Linked DNA regions of Homo sapiens: region 2 is linked to region 1. The links are contacts of gene promoters, found by promoter capture Hi-C in human tissues and cell types (Jung and others, 2019). All regions are on one chromosome and are shown on one strand. The core of a region is centred on a gene start or on the middle of the fragment in contact, and the rest is flanking DNA. Distances in the headings are between cores, read along the strand shown.

Evidence for each region. The method cuts DNA at HindIII sites, captures the fragments that hold promoters and counts their contacts. A contact is called where the count stands out against the background at its distance.
Region 2: a contact is called between a fragment that was not itself captured here and the fragment with the promoter of AMN in region 1, in 2 of the 25 tissues and cell types used here (dorsolateral prefrontal cortex and mesendoderm cells).

Annotation. Positions count from the first base shown.
Region 1 is chr14:102,921,367-102,924,372 of GRCh38, reverse strand. AMN (amnion associated transmembrane protein) reads right to left here and starts at 1,710. Exons shown (of 12, transcript NM_030943.4): 1 at 1,642-1,710; 2 at 544-662; 3 at 394-438. The coding sequence starts at 1,684. RefSeq lists silencers at 1-123, 1,287-1,486. The HindIII fragment of the contact is 38,072 bases long and covers 1-3,006 here.
Region 2 is chr14:102,351,452-102,354,340 of GRCh38, reverse strand. All of the region lies in intron 3 of CINP (cyclin dependent kinase 2 interacting protein), which reads left to right. Among named protein-coding and RNA genes, the nearest start is that of CINP, 10 kb to the left of the region's middle. The HindIII fragment of the contact is 9,147 bases long and covers 1-2,889 here.

The DNA.
Region 1 (3,006 bases), core at 461-2,960:
CCCGGATGGTGGGTAGAGGGGGGGGTGTTGGGGACACTTTCCCTAGTGTTCTAAAGATGGAGCTTTAGGCACCAGGACAAGGCAAGGCTTTGGGGGAAGGGCATGGAGCAGGCGCTTCCTGGGAAGACCACCCACTGCTGGGCATCACAAGGGCTGTGGGGACAGGGGTGCCTCCCATCCCTCCCAGGACACAGCCTGGCTGGGACCATGGGACCAAGCTCCCCTAGGTTCCCCCCCACTCCCTGCCTCCTAGAATATTCTCCAGAGGCCAAAGTCCCAGTCCTGCAGTGCCTCCATGCCGGTGGGGTCCGCCCTCAAGGCACAGCAGTCCCTGAAGGCGCTTCAGAGACTCTGTGAACCCCCAGCCCAGTGGCAGTAGCAGCCCGGCCTTACCATGTCTGAGACGGCGTGACCTTCTTGCACCAGGACTGACACCATCTGCAGGAAGAAGCTGCCTCAGCCGAGCCGGGAGCAACCCCCACCGGGGCCACACGGTCTCAGGGGTCCAGGCCCATCACCGACCCCGCCGGCGCTCCCAGGCACCTTGTCCGCCGGGAACTCAACGGCGCCGCCGGCGCACGGGGTCCGGTTCTGGCTCCAGTTGGCTGCGACGTCGAAGTCCGTGTTGGGGACCCAGAGTTTGGAGACCGCCTGGGTCAGTGCTGGGGAGGAGGCGACTGAGTGCCCGGGATGCTCTCCGGGATGCTCCCTTCTCAGGGAAGGCCACCCACCCAGAGAAGTGCGGAAGGTCCGCGCGGATCACCCGGGACGCATAGGAACCCCATCCCCGGGGGCCCGGACCCAGACCCTGGTCCCTCCCGGCCAGACTGTGGGCGCCCTGCCCGGGCGCTCTCCAACGGACTTCTACTGATACCTGCAGAGCCCGCTCAAACGCGCCCTGCAGGACGCCTGCCTAGATAGCCTCCCGGCACTGCCCCCAGTTTGCCTGGCGCTGGAGCAGAGGACAGCGTTGTTAAGGACAGTGACAACTGGGGCATGGAGGAGGATGGGGCAGCACAGACCTCTTCTCGGCCTTGGAATCAGGAAGGCTTCCCGGAGGAGTCCTACCTGGGCCGGGAAGAGCTGCGACAGAGCGCAACCCGGTATGAGAAGTAAGAAGGGGCTGGGGGCGGCAGGACCAGGTCAGGCCGGCCCTGAATGTGGTGGGTGGGGTTGTCCTGAGGGAGCCGCGAGGGGTTTAGGGAAGGGGGCGCCAGGGACACGCGCCGGCCTGGTGTGAAGGCGGAGGAGGGCTCAGTGCTCCCTTGGGGACCGGGAAGCTGAGGCGGTCTGCCGAGCCCCGCAGGCGCACACTCGCTGCTCTCGGCAGGTTCTGGGGACCGCGCCCATTTCGCAGACGGAAAAACCGCGAGGGCAGGAGCCGCCGGAGGCCGGGGCTGGCCGAGGTTCCCGGAGCCCCTCCTCTCCTCTCCCGCACCGCCCGATGCACTGGCCGCGCACTTCCGGGCTGCGCACTCGCCAGACGAGGGAGGCAGGGCCGAGTTTCACGCCCCCAACCCTCCAAAGCCCTCCCTGCCCACTCCTCGGAAGATCTTCACCCTCCAGGCCTAGAGCGACCTCGGCCCTGGGTCCTGACAGACCGCTACCGTCCGGGCCCGCACCGGTGTGGTCCCGGCTCACCGCAGAGCTGCAGCCACAGCAGGACCCGGCCCAGGACGCCCATCTCGCCTCGGCTCCTTGCACCCCACCAGGAGACTTTGCCCCACTGGACCCACGTGACCAGGCAGGTCGGGTGGGGGCACCAGGGTCGGTTACACATTTACCTCCAGACCCGCCCAGGGCCGACTCTTCAGGCCCCTGGGAGGCACCTTCTCAGCCTCCCCTTACCCGCCCCTGCAGGGCCTGAACACCTTAGGTTCTCAGGAAGAAGGGCAAAGAAGAAGGGCTTGGCGAGACTGACCTACCCTGTAAAATGGGTGTCTTGCCGGGAGGGGGAATAAACGACCTTTGAATTCACCCCTTTCTCTGTCCTGTGTGCTGCTAGGGCTGAGCTAGTCTGCTCACCATTGGAACTGGGTGTCCACTTCTCCACGCAGTGCCCCTGTCCCATGGGCTGTGGGTGGTGGTTGGATGATAGAAGGAAGATCCTGGATGGAACATGGTATGTGGATGGTATAGGAGGGTGGATTGTGGATGATGGTGGAGAGTAGTGGATGGTGAGTAGGGGACAGCTGATGGACAGCAACATTGATGGTGCATGGTGTACGGCATATGGACGCATGGCAGATGAATGGTAAATGGTTGACGGGGTGGATGGTGAGTGATAGAGGGTGGATGGGTGATGAATGGATGGATGAGGATGGTGAGTGAAAAATGAATGAATGGCCGGGCGTGGTGGCTCATGCCTGTAATCCCAGCACTTTGGGAGGGTGAGGCAGGCGGATCGCGAGGTCAGGAGATCAAGACCATCCTGGCTAACGCGGTGAAACCCCGTCTATACTAAAAATATACAAAAAAATTAACCGGGCATGGTAGAAGGCGCCTGTAGTCCCAGCTACTTGGGGGGCTGAGGCAGAACGGCGTGAACCCAGGAGGTGGAGCTTGCAGTGAGCCACGATCGTGCGCTGCACTCCAGCCTGAGCGACAGAGCGAGACTCCGTCTCAAAAAAAAAAAAAAAAAAAGGAAAAGGAATGGATGGTAATCAGGGAGTGGTGGATGGATAATGGCATAAATGGATACATGGCCGACAGGTAGATCATAAAGAGTGGGTGTTGGCGGGGCACGGTGGCTCACGCCTGTAACCGCAGCACTTTGGGAGGCCAAGGCGGGCAGATCACCTGAGGTCGGGAGTTCGAGACCAGCCTGACCAACATGGAGAAACCCCATCTCTACTAAAAATACAAAATTAGATAGGCATGGTGGCACATGCCTGTAATCCCAGCTACTTGGGAGGCTAAGGCAGGAGAATCGTTTGAACCTGGAAGGCGGAGGTTGTGGTGATCGGAGATCACGCCACTGTGCTCCAGCCTGGGCAACAAGAGTGA
Region 2 (2,889 bases), core at 167-2,666, 570 kb after region 1:
ATAGGCTATGGGCCAGAATTGACCTGTGTTCCAGGGATAGTTTGCCCATCCCTGATACAGCACGTAAGAGACTAAAGTGTTTGTTTAATGAACTAATAACTAAATTTCAATACCTACCATACTGGCCACCAGATGTGAAGATAACACCACCTTATTTCTTTGCTAGGCACAGGAAATCAGGTTTTACACATATTTGAACTTGGATAACTGAAGCTTACCCATAAACATTTAAGATCTTTATATTTTCACCTTTTTGTTTGTTTGGAGACAAGGTCTCGCTGTGGAATGCAGTAGTATGATCACAGCTCACTGCAGCCTTTACTTCCTGGGCTTAAGTGATCTTCTTGCCTCAGCCTCCCGAGTAGCTGGGACTACAAGCATGAACCATCATGCCCGGCTAATTTTTAAAATTCGTTTGTACAGACGGGGTTCTCATGTTGGCCAGGCTGGTCTCGAACTCCTGACATGAAGTGATCTTCCCACCTTGGCCTCCCAAAGTGCTGGGATCACAGGTGTGAGCCCTGGCGCCCTGCCTTAGCTTTTCCGTCATGTCTTGTTTTGGCTTCAGGATCCTGTATGACATCGAGTCCCCTTGTTTCCTCAGGCTCCTTTTGGCCGTGACAGTTTCTCAGACTTCCCTGTTTTTGATGACTTTGACAATGTTGAGGGATACTGGTCAGGTATTTTGTAGAACATCATGAGATTTATCTGATGTTTTTCTCCTAATTAGACTGAGGTTACGGGTTTTGTTCAGAGGAGGACCACAGAAGTAAAGTGCCATTTCTATCATGTCATATCAAGGGCACGTACTGGATATACTGTCATCAGGACTTTTCTTTGGGTCCCACCTATTGCCCGGGCTGGTCTCAAACTCCTGGGCTCAAGCAGTGCTCCCACCTCAGCCTCCCAAAGTGCTGGGATTCCAGGCGTGAGCCACTGTGCACAGCCAGGACTTTCCACTGCTGAAGTTGACCTTGATCACCTGGCTGGGCAGTGTTTCCAGGTTCCTCTGCTGTGACGTTGCTCTTTCTCCTCCTCCCACGCTGTGCTCTTTGGCAGGAAGTCACTATGCATAGCCCACACCTGGGGGTAGGGACGTATTCACCACCTGCTTGAGGGTGCAGTATCTACATAAATTATTTGGAATTATTCTGCGTGGGAGATTTGTTCCCTCCCTCCCATTTGTTAATTTTTTTTTTTTTTGAGATGGAGTTTCACTCTTGTTGCCCAGGCTGGAGTGCAGTGGGGTGATCTCTGCCCACTGCAACCTCTGCCTCCTGGGTTCAAGTGATTCTCCTGTCTCAGCTTCCCAAGTAGCTGGGATTACAGGTGCCTGCCACCACACCCAGCTAATTGTTGTATTTTTATTTGTTTTTTTTTAATTTTTGTTTTGGCCAGGCGCAGTGGCTCATGCCTGTAATCCCAGCACTCTAGGAGGCCGAGGCAGGTGGATCACCTGAGGTCAAGAGTTTGAGACCAGCATGGCCAACATAGTGAAACCCCATCTCTACTAAAAATACAAAAAATTAGCTGGGGGTGGTGGCAGGTGCCTGCAATCCCAGCTACTTGGGAGGCTGAGGCGGGAGAATCACTTTCGGAGGTTGCAGTTAGCCGAGATCAAGCCACTGCACTCCAGTCTGGGCCACAGAGTGAGACTCCGTGTCAAAAAAAAGAAAAAAAGAAAAAGAAAAGTGGTTTGGGAATAAGTTCTCATTCTATGTTCAAAACCAAAAGTTGATTTTATAGGGTATTATTATTTTTCCTATTTTCCTCTATCCGTTATAGAGAATGGTTTCCAGACCTGGTCTGTGTCTTTCATAACTTTGACCTTCTGGGGGTTTCATGCACCGTTCTTCCTAAGCTGGGCTAACATTTCACTGTGGTCTGTGTTTGCTGTGGGAAGAAGCCACCGATGTTGAAATGTAAGGGCCTGCTGTTTATGCACTGTTCATTCAGGGCTGCACGTGCCTATGTGACTTGAATTCTTTATTGATGGCTGAGCTGCAGGATTGAGCATGACTTCTTGCCTGGGGTCAAGGCTCCAGAATTTTCCTTAGTCTCCTGTTATCAGCTTTTCTTAGAATCAGGTGGCACCAGGGAGCTGCTGCAGGACTCACAGGAAAGAGCAGAGGATTGGGTGTTAAAACTTGGTGTCGGCTGGGCGCGGTGGCTCACGCCTGGAATCCCAACACTTTGGGAGGCTGAGGTGGGCGGATCACAAGGTCAGGAGATCGAGACCATCCTGGCTAACACAGTGAAACCCCAGCTCTGCTAAAAGTACCAAAAAAATTAGCCAGGCACAGTGGCGGGCGCCTGTAGTCCCAGCTACTTGGGAGGCTGAGGCAGGAGAATGGCATGAACCCGGGAGGCGGAGGTTGCAGTGAGCGGAGATCGCGCCACTGCACTCCAGCCTGGGTGACAAAGCGAGACTCTGTCTCAAAAAAAACAAAAACAAAAACAAAAACAAAAAAACTTGGTGTCAGAAGGCATGGTATCGAGTTCTGGCCTCATCCTTCCTCAGCTCAACCTTAAGCAATTTCCCAGCTGTGAAACGGAAATGACAAGTCCTGCCTCTTGGGGTTGGGCCAAATAAAATATCAAACCTTAAAAGATTTGGGAAACTACTTAAGTAAAGTCCTTTAAAAATTAACGTTAGCTGAATTTAGTGCTTGCCACTTCCAATGTAATTGGAGGGTGGTTGGAAGGACCAAGTAAAGGAATTAAGATATTTGACAATTTATATATCTTTTCTTATTTCCCCTTTTTCATATTTATGTATGTAAAGTCAACTATACTTAGGAGTTCAAAATTTGGTCTTTATAGACCTATGCTACTTAAATCTGAAATCCTAGTTACTTCACCCATTAATTTTCTTTATCCAACCCTTAT